2 separate regions of the Homo sapiens genome follow, and region 2 is linked to region 1. The links are contacts of gene promoters, found by promoter capture Hi-C in blood cells and fetal thymus (Javierre and others, 2016). All regions are on one chromosome and are shown on one strand. The core of a region is centred on a gene start or on the middle of the fragment in contact, and the rest is flanking DNA. Distances in the headings are between cores, read along the strand shown.

Region 1 (5,514 bases), core at 90-2,589:
CATGGTTTTAATTTTTATTTTCCTGGCAAGTAATGATATTGAGCACCTTTTAAAATGTTCATTGCTCATTTGGGTATCTTTTGTGCAACACGCCAAGTCTTTTACCCATTTTTAAATTGTTATATATTATTGATACATATGGTTATATATTATGGATAACAGACCTTTGTCAGTCTCTCAGTCCTTACAGAATCTTTAACTAGTTGATGCTCAGTAACTACCTACTGAATAAGTAAGGATCATTCATTGCAATGGGACCAAAGACTGGGATCTAGGATTATCATTCAGACAACAATTTCAGGAATTTAGAAAAAGGTCTTTTAAGAGATGTACTTATATAAAGCGGAATGTACTTCTCATATCAAAGATAAAAGTCAATTATAAAATAATATAGTTTCAGGGTTCAAAGACTATGTAAACCAACCACAAAAGTGGAGGTTGTGTTCCACTTATATAATAATTTTACCTAAGTTAGAACCACAGCTGAAGAAACAAATAAAAAGGCTATCAGGAGTTAGTAGCTGATAGGTGGATTAACAAAGTTACTTTAGCTGTCTATCTAAACCAGGGGAAAATAGGCTTGTGAAACCAACGCTTATACACACACACACACACACACACACACACATTAATATACACACACACATACTAATTAAACTTAAGTTTACTTTTCTATTTCCCTCATCTGGCCTGTAGCCAGACGCTTGGAGAGGTTGGGGAGAACCCGCTCCGGCGAGGACGCAGTACGCGGGGCCAGTTGCCCGACCATTCCCGAGACCTTGAAGGGACAGTGGGTCAGATCCAGGGTTCGCTTCCTTCCACGCCCCGCTACCGCCTTCCTTCCGATTGGCTGATCGGGGGCACCACAGCCAATCCTAGACGGCGATTGGCCAGGCTACCGCCAGGGTCGCCTCACCCGCACACGCCTAAGACTAACAAGGTCCTGGCGGAGGAGCGGGGGATCCCGGCAGTAGGTACAGGACCTACCTGCCAAGATGCTGCACGGTTGCCGCAAGGCTCGAACCCTCGGCGCCGGACCCACCTCACTGCCCGGTCCAACAGGCTCAAAGTCCCATCCTCACACACACCCGCGGGCGCCGTCACTGGCCCTCCGCAGAGGCGCGGTCACCGCTCTGCCTCTGCCACCGCCTTTACTCCCCGACGCCGTCGCCATAGTCAGCACCGTCCCTACCGCCCAAGATGCGGAAACGCGACAAATTGCTTTACCTGAACGACCCTACTAGCAGACGCCATCTTGCTGCCCATCATGACCCCCGAGAAGGGGCAGTTTCCGGGGCGCGAGCGAGCCGCGGCGATCACTGGAGTCCCGGGCAGCTGTGGGCGGTGCTTCCCGGGACGTCACGGAGGCGGAGACCGGACTGGGCTCTCCTCCGCCGTGGGGCTGGCTCCGCCCCCTGTGCCTGACCCCGCCCACCCCTTCTCCCTACTAGGATCCACCCACGTGTGTTCTATTGTTTCGTTTTGGGGACAAAATTTTGTTAAGGTGGGTCTCTGCTCATTAGCCTATAAATTGTCTAGGACCATTTCCTTTCCAGAAAGCCAGTCTATAATTTCGATATAGTTCAAAATTTTATCTGGAACCAAATAAATAATACAACCTTCTTATCTGACAGCTCTTGCAAAGATTAAAAAAATTAAAGAAAAACAAAAAAAAAACCTTGCGGTTTCCTAAAATGAATAATTTCGTTAAAATGGGAGTTAGTGGCAAGCTCACAAGAGTTTACTCTGGCTTAAAAAGGGCCATGTCACACTCTCTTGCTGATTGGCATTGCTTGATTGTAATTTGTTTCTGTTTTCTTTACCGTTTATTACTCCTGATATCGAACTGCTGGGCCTTTGCTTCAAGTTGAGATAACTCAAAAATTCAGAAATATTTGAAATGTAAGCCACTCATATCTTTCCCCCAAAATTACATTACGGGCGGGGCGCTATGGCTCACGCCTGTAATGCCAGCACTTTGGGAGGCTGAGGCGGGCGGATCACTTGAGGTCAGGAGTTCGACACCAGACTGGCCAACATTGTAAAACCCTGTCTCTACTAAAAATACAAAAATTAGCCGGGCGTGGTGGCGGGCGCCTGTAGTCCCAGCTACTCAGGAGGTGAGGCAGGAGAATTGCTTGAACCCAGAAGGCAGAGGTTGCAGTAAGCCGAGAGTGTGCCACTGCACTCCGGCCTGAGCGACAGAGGGAGACTCCGTCTCAAAAAAAAAAAAAGTTACATTACGTTCTGTGATAATGCTTAGGTTATATATAGTATTGTAAGCTTGACCAATGTGTTTGATGATATACATCAGTGATTTCTAAGTCTTGGGATCTTTTTAGAAATATAAATTACTGAACCCAGGTATGGTCTATTGGGATTCAGTGACTACAGAGAGGCCATTAACCCGTTTTGTTTTGTTTTGTTTTTGTGGTTTTTTTTTTTTTTTTTGAGACGGAGTCTCGCTCTGTTGCCCAGCCTGGAGTGCTGTGGCGTGATCTCAGGTCACTGCAACCTTTGCCTCCTGGATTCAAGCAATTCTCCAGCCTCAGCCTCCCCAGTAGCTGGGATTACAGACGCCCGCCACCACGCCTGGCTAATTTTTGTATTTTTGGTAGAGACAGAGTTTCACCATATTGGCCAGACTAATCTCCAACTCCTGGCCTCAAGTGATCCACCCACCTCAGCCTCCCTAAGTGCTGGTATTACAGGCGTGAGCCACTGCGCCTGGCCCCATTTTAATTATTTTCAAATGTGCAGTTCAGTCACATTAAGTACATTCACATTGTTGGGCAATTGTTACCATCTTCAGAAACTGTACCCATTAAACAAAAACTTATTCCTCCTTCCCTCAGCCTCTGACAACTATCATTTTACTTTCTGTCTATGAATTTGACTACTGTGGGTACTTAATGTACGTGGAGCCATAACAGTATTTGTCCTTTTGTAATTAGCTTGTTTCACTTAGCATGTCTTCAGAGTTCATTCATGTTGTAGAATGTGTCAGAATTTCTTTTTTAAGGCTGAAAAAATCCCATTATATGTGTATACCACATTTTGCTTATCCATTCATCTGTGGTAATTCTTTTTTTTTTTGAGACAGAGTCTTGCTCTGTCACCCAGGCTGGAGTGCAGTGGTGCCAACTCGGCTCACTGCAAGCTCCGCCTCCCTGGTTCACACCATTCTCCCACCTCAGCCTCCCAGGTAGCTGGGACTACAGGCACCCGCCACCACACCAGGCTAATTTTTTTTGTATTTTTAGTAGAGACAGGGTTTCACTGTGTTAGCCAGGATAGTCTCCATCTCCTGACCTCGTGATCTGCCCGCCTCAGCCTCCCAAAGTGCTGGGATTACAGGTGTGAGCCACCGTGCCCAGCCGATAATTTTTTTTTTTTTTTGAGACAGAGTCTCGCTGTGACACCCAGGCTGGATGCAGTGGCATGATCTCAGCTCAATGCAACCTCTGCCTCCTGGGTTCAACTGATTCTCCTGCCTCATCCTCCTGAGTGGCTGGGATTACAGGTGCCCACCACCACGCCCAGCTAATTTTTGTATTTTTAGTAGAGACAGGGTTTCTCCGTGTTGGCCAGAATGATCTCAAACTCCTGACCTCAGGTGATCCGCCCACCTTGGCCTCCCAAAGTGCTGGGATTACAGGTGTGAGCCACCGCACCTGGCCCAGTTCAATGCTTTTTAGAAAATTTTCATTTGAGACTCCTTTGACCTATGCCTCATTTAAAAGTGTGTTCAGTTTCCAAGTATTTGGAAATTTTCCTGTTATCTGACTGTTACTGATTCCTCATTTGATTCCCTTGTAGTCAGAACACAGTCTGTATAATTTCAATTCTTTTATATTTGTTGATATTTTGTCATCCAGGATATGGTCTATGTTGTTTATGTTCTGTAAGCACTTGAAAAGAGTGTTCTGCTGTTGTTTGGTGGAGTATTCTATAAATGTTGATTAGCTCCTCTGTTAGTCCATGTGTGCTACTGTAACAAAATACCTTAGTATGGGTAATTTATAACCACAGAAATTTATTTCTCATGTTCAGGAGGCTCAAAAGTCTAAGATCAAAGTACCAGCAGTTTCGGTGTTTTGTGAGGGCTCAGTCTTTTCTTCCAAGATGGTGCTTTGAACACTGCTTCATCCGAGGGGTTTAACACTGTGTGCTCACATGGCAGAAGGGCAGAAGAGAAGGAACCCATTCCCTCAAACTTTTTTTTTTTTTTTTTTTGAGACAGTCTTGTTCTGTCACCCAGGCTGGAGTGCAGTGGCACAATCTCGGCTCACTGCAACCTCCATCTCCTGGGTTCAAGCGATTCTCCTGTTGCAGCCTCCCAAGTAGCTGGGATTACAGGCGCCCTCTACCACACCCAGCTAATTTTTGTATTTTTAGTAGAGATGGGGTTTTGCCATGTTGGACAGGCTGGCTTTGAACTCCTGACCTCAGGTGATCGGCCCACTTTGGCCGCCCAAAATGCTGGGATTACAGGTGTGAGCCATTGTGCCTGGCCCTCAAACCTTTTTTTAAGGGCCTTAATCTCATCCATGATGGTTCTGTACTCATGATTTAATCATTTCCAATACCTTTTCGTATTGTCACATTAGCAATTTTCAATAGATGAATTTTGAAGGACACAGTCAGACCATAGCTTACCGCCTTTGGCCCCCCAAATTTATGTCCTACTCACATGCAAAATACATTTATCGGACGCTTGTTGCTCACACCTGTAATCCCAGCACTTTGGGAGGCTGAGGCAGACGGATCACTTGAGGTCACGAATTCCAGGCCAGCCTGGCCAACACGGTGAAACCCTGTCTCTACTAAAAATAAAAAAAATTAGCTGAGCGTGGTGGTGTATGCCTATAATCCCAGCTACTTGGAAGCCGAGGCATGAGAATTGCTTGAACCTGGGAGGCGGAAGTTGTTCACAGTGAGCCAAGATCGTACCACTGCACTTCAGCCTGGGGGACAAAGGGAAACACTGTCTCAAAAGACAAACAAAAAAAACCCAAAAATACATTTATCCATCCCAGTAGCCCCAAAAGTCTCAACTCATTCCAGCACCAACTCAAAACTATAAAGTCCAGAGTCTCACCTAAATCAGATATGGATGAGACTCAAGGCCATGACTCATCCTGAGGCAACTTCTCCTGCAGCTGTGAGCCTGTGAAATCAAATACATGTGCTTCCAAAACACAATGATGGGTCAGGAACAGGACTGACATTCCCATTCCAAGAGGGAGAAATAGGCAAGAAGAAAGGAGTAATAGGTCCCAAGTAAGTTAAAAACCCAAAAGGCCAACAACATTAACTCTTGAAGCTTGAGAATAATTCTTGACTCAGTATCTTGCCTTCAGGATGCATTGGGCTGGGGGTTGGACCCCCAAAGCCCCGGGGCAGCCCTACCCCATGGTTTTGATGGGCACAGTTCCAACCCAGCAGCTCTCAGCAGTTGAAGAGAGGTACCTGGGCTCTCTCAGGCAAGTATTGCATGCTGATGGCTCTACA
Region 2 (5,355 bases), core at 2,834-5,333, 88 kb after region 1:
GTTTAGAATCCTGGAGATTGTTTGCCTCCTGACTTCAATGCAGTGCTGAAGTCTTCTTCCATAGAAATCCTCTTCAACCACTCTCTGGCACCTCTATAACTCTGTCCTTGAACGCTGCTTTAGTTGAGTCTCAACCCTGAATCCAGAGTGCCTAGTTGAGAAAATTGGCTTTCCCACTTATAACGTGTATGATTTGGGGCAGGTTAATTAACCTTTTCCTGCCTCAGTTTCTGCATCAGTAAAATGGAAATAATAATTACACATATTTATTGTTTAGAACAGTGTCCATCTGGAACATGGCAAAAGTTCAGTAAGTTATTGCTTTTCTTCACAGCACTTACTACATTTTATTACATACTGGTCTTGTCTTCTACATTAGAAGTAAGCTCCATTAGGGCAGGACTTTGTATTACTGAGGACTTTATCCCTAGCTCCTAGTGCAGTGTATTTAGTATAAAGGCCTTCAGTATTTGTTATGAGTTAATTTACTGAATGTTTAAAACGCCATAAATTGCTATAACAGAAGAAAAGAATTATAATTAAAAATAAAACACAGGCCGGGCACGGTGGCTGATGCCTGTAATCCCACACTTTGGGAGGCCGAGGTGGGCGGATGGATCACAAGGTCGAGGTCGAGACCATCCTGGCCAACATGGTGAAACTCTGTCTCTACTAAAAAAAAAATACAAAAATTAGCTGGGCGTAGTGGCGTGCACCTGTAGTCCCAGCTACTCAGGAGGCTGAGGCAGGAGAATCGTTTGAACCCAGGAGGTGGAGGTTACAGTGAGCCAGATTGCACCACTGCACTCAAGCCTGGCGACAGAGCGAGACTCTAAAAACTAATAAATAAAAACATAAATAAAACACAAAAAGCCATAAATGATTGTATTATTTTCTTTCTTTTTTTTTTTTTTTTGAGACGGAGTCTCACTCTGTCACCCAGGCTGGAGTGCAGTGGCACGATCTCGGCTCACTGCAACCTCCGCCTCCCGGGTTCACACCATTCTCCTGCCTCAGCCTCCCGAGGAGCTGGGACTACAGGCGCCCGCCACCACGCCCCGCTAATTTTTTGTATTTTTAGTAGAGATGGGGTTTCACCGTGTTAGCCAGGATGGCTATAATCCTCATACTTTGGGAAGAAGAGGTGGGAGGATCACTTGAGCCCAGGAGTTCCGAGACTTGCATGGGCAACATGGTGAGACCCTGTCTCTACAAACAATAAATTAGCTGGGCATGGTAATGTGCACCTGCAGTCCTACCTACTGGAGAGGCTGAGGTGGGAGGATTGCTTGAGCTCAGGAGTTCAAGGCTGCAGTGAGCAATGATCATGTCATTGCACTCCAGCCTGGGCAACAGAGTGAGACCTTGTCTCTGAAAAAAAAATCCAAACTCCCCTCCCTCAAAACAGGCTTCTATTTTGGGCATTATTTTTAACTTATTTATATGTTAAACATCTAATTAATCTCTTGAGATGCTAATTTATAGAAAAAAAGAGACAAGTTAATGACGGCTACCTTTGAAGTCAGGCTTAAAAAGTAACAATTCTTCGTATTTAGCCTTTTTCTTTTTTGTTTTTGAGATGGAGTCTTGCTCTGTCACCCAGGCTAGAGTGCAGTGGTGCTATCTCGGCTGCCTGCCAGCTCCGCCTCCCAGGTTAACGCCATTCTCCTGCCTTAGCCTGCCGAGTAGCTGGGACTACAGGCGCCTGCCACCACATCTGGCTAATTTTTTGCATTTTTAGTAGAGACAGGGTTTCACCATGTTAGCCAGGATGGTCTCGATCTCCTGACCTCGTGATCCGCCCACCTCGGCCTCCCAAAGTGCTGGGATTACAGGCGTGAGCCACCGCACCCGGCCTATTTAGCCTTTTTCAACTTCCACTGCATTTTCACATACATTATACCTTTTGTTCCCATATCCTGTGCTGTAAATTTGAGCAGGTTTTATATAGTTTATATATGAGGAAAAAAAAAAGATACCTCAGAAAGGCTGATTTGCCTAAAGTTGCATGAATTTTTTTTTTTTTTTTGAGATAAAATCTTTCTGTGTCACCCAGGCTGGAGAGCAGTGGTGCCATCATGGCTCACTGCAGCCTTGGCCTCCTAGGTTCAAGCAATCCTCCTGCCTCAGCCTCCCAAGAGGTATGTGCCACCATGCCCCAGCTAATTTTTAAAAATTTTTGTAGAGATGGAATCTTGCTATGTTGCTCAGGCTGTTCTCAAACTCCTGGGCTCAAGCTATCCTTTTGCTTTAGCCTCCCAAAGTGCCAGGATTTCAGGCAAGAGACACTGCACCTGGCCTAGTTGCATGATTTGCATGAGCTGAAATACAGTACCCTGGTGCTTTCAATATTAGAGTTTCCATACTTTATAATTGTACCTCCCCAACCTTCAGCCCCTGCTCTCTCTCACTCTAATATCTCACAATCACATTAATTTTTTTGCTGTTTATATGTCTTCTAAGGGAAATGACAATTTTAACTTTGGTGTAATATTTATTGCACCTATCTACTTAATTTTTTAATGTATAAAAATTGCATTAAAACATCAATATGCAATTATTTTCCCACCACTCAAAAATTTTAATATGTATTGAAGATTTTGGCCAAAAAATATGCAAAAGACAAGGAATATAAAAATAACTTACAACAAATTTCTAAAACCCCTCATATATTAAAATTGGTAAGACAAAAATATGATTTATAATACATGTTTGCCATTGTGGTATATATAAGAAAATAGTACTCATACTAAATTCAATCTACTTATCAAAATTCTTAATATAAGAATGAAAATATTCAGATGTTATAAATAGAAAGACAGGTATTAAAAAGTTTCTTTTGGACAACATTCTTTGGTGCTGATAAAACTGCATGTTATTGTCTATGGTAAAGTCTTTTCAGACTTTACTACATATCTAGTTACAACTGGAAATGAAAAAAATATAAATTAGATATGACTATAGAAAGTAGTTATAGGGTATTTTGATTTCATGGTGCTCAAATGTTTATGAACAAGTTTTACTTATTAAACTTTGAAATAACTACCTATTCTTTGATATTTCTTATATATCTATATGTTCCAGAAATTAGAAAAAAGTTACCTACATAGGCAGAGAATTCAACTGTGAGTTGACAATTATTTACGATTCTCTTAACTGGCTGTTTCACAACGTTATGGAGCTAAGAAAGGATGAAAGCTTACCACTGCTTGGATACCAGCTTGATAAGCAGCTTGGAATGTCAAATATATAACAAGAAAGGAAATATTCTACTTTAAAGGAACATGGTAAGTAAATGAATAACATGGACACAACTTAGTATAAGTTCTTTACCCTAATAAATTAATTATTCATTTGCAAATATTACCAAAAGTAAAAAAAATTTATTTTATAGAGTGGTTGATTTTTGTAATACATCAAAAACTGTGATGTTATACACTTCCCTATTCTCATTGCTTATCTCATATCAGTGGTTGAAGTTTCTCCCAAATAATTTAGTTTACATTTAAAGTGGCAATACAGATTTTACTTAATGGACTTAAGTTATAATTAGAAACCAGTTTTATATACAGAAAATCCATAAATATAGAACTTTTATTCCTATTTTATCTTTAGGCTATGCAAAAAATGGACTAAAAATTTTTCATTTGGGTCTTTGTAATAAACATGTAAATACATATTTACAATGGAGATGCTTCCTGATAGAAAGTAAACAGAAGTAATTTTGGTCTTCACTAGAATCCATCATATCTATTTTTGAAGATGATGTAATACATCATGTTTACTCAAAATTTGATTCCTTTTATACACATAATTTAAATAATTACTCCACTTTTACCATTAATGTTTCATTCTGTATTTAAATTTCCTTCAAGAAAGATTCCTTGATCCAGTAGTAGGGAACTCTGTTTCTGTACAGTTAATGTGTAATTTTTATCCTTCTGGCAATATTACAAATACTGAGTCATTTAATCTTCATTGTTTATTCTCCAGGGGTAATTCTTGAGTTATCTCACATGATGTAAGTACCATCTTTGCAGTATTTCATGGATTCCATTTGTTTTGTCATAGCCAGAACATCATGAAATCCAGTACTTAGGCCAGACATATGTTGAAAGTATGCCTCCTTTTCCACTTGAATTGTTAAATTGTTTACTCCAGCATCTTTAAGTATTCCTGTAACCTGTTATAAAAATCCAGATATTTTGAAGCATTTAGAGTAATGCATTTAGTACACACGTCTTAATATGCTGTACATAGTTGATACGGGTTGAGTATCTTTAATCTGAAAATACGAAATCTGAGACGCTCTAAAATCTGAAACTTTTTGAGTGCCAAGATGGTGTTAAAAGGAAATGCTCATTGGAGCATTTTGGATTTGGATTTTCAGATTAGGGATGCTCAACTGGTAAGCGTAATGCGAGTATTAAAAAAAATAAAATCGCAAATCGAAAACACTTCTGGTTCCAAGCATTTTAGATAAGGAATATTAAACCTGTGTCACATTTTTAAAATAGTTACAGGCCAGGCACAGTGGCCCAGGGAGGCTGAGGCAGGAGGATCGCTTGAGCCCAGGAGTTTGAGACCAGCCTGGGCAACATAGTGAGATCTTGTCTCTAAAATGAATGAGTAAACAAACAAACAAACAGTTACAGTAGTCCAAGATAAATCTTCGAAGTAATATTCATCATTTAGTTAGTTAAAATATTAGACTCTTTTAGGTCAGTAAATTACTGATTTGACATTCACAGTAGAAAAGGAAAACAGCCATTGTTTCCAATTTGGCACATCTAGAACAGGGCTTTAGTAACTATTCTGACCTCTATCTCCAAACATAGCATATACCCTGCCAAGTTGATTATTACTAATTTAGGAATATATTTATAATAACTTATTTTTTGATAATCTACTGGAAACCAAGATTAATCAAACTCATAAATGAATTTTTTTATATTAATTAAAGCTTATCCTCTAAACACAAAACTTCATTTATTTTAGCAATTTTTAGATATAAAACAAATCTAGATGTAAAAAGTAAGCTATATTACCGTTACAGATTTGGAAGATTAGGCCGGGCATGATGGCTTGCCTATAAACCCAGCACTTTGGGAGGTCGAGGCAGGCGGATCACCTGAGGTCAGGAGTTTGAGACTAGACTGGCCAACATGGCGAAACCCCATCTCTACTAAAAATACAAACAAACAAACAAAAATAGGCGGGCATGGTGACGGGTGCCTATAATCCCAGCGACTTGGGAGGCTGAGGCAGGGAGACTGCTTGAACCCAGGAGGCGGAGGTTGCAGTGGGCCGAGATCACGCCACTGCACTCCAGCCTGGGCAACAGAGTGAGACCCT

What was found. Contacts are between HindIII fragments. The CHiCAGO score rates a contact against its expected background, and 5 or more counts as called.
Region 2: a fragment that was not itself captured here is called in contact with the fragment with the promoter of KGD4 in region 1 in 1 of 17 cell types (total B cells); the score reaches 5.4 in total B cells.

What each region holds. Positions count from the first base shown.
Region 1 is chr5:69,213,585-69,219,098 of GRCh38, reverse strand. It overlaps KGD4 (alpha-ketoglutarate dehydrogenase subunit 4), which reads right to left and starts at 1,339. Exons shown (of 4, transcript NM_033281.6): 1 at 1,228-1,339. The coding sequence starts at 1,269. RefSeq lists an enhancer at 763-1,057. The HindIII fragment of the contact is 5,941 bases long and covers 1-2,285 here.
Region 2 is chr5:69,128,275-69,133,629 of GRCh38, reverse strand. SLC30A5 (solute carrier family 30 member 5) reads right to left here. Exons shown (of 16, transcript NM_022902.5): 16 at 2,561-4,183. The coding sequence ends at 4,013. Among named protein-coding and RNA genes, the nearest start is that of SNORA50D, 30 kb to the left of the region's middle. The HindIII fragment of the contact is 1,765 bases long and covers 3,201-4,965 here.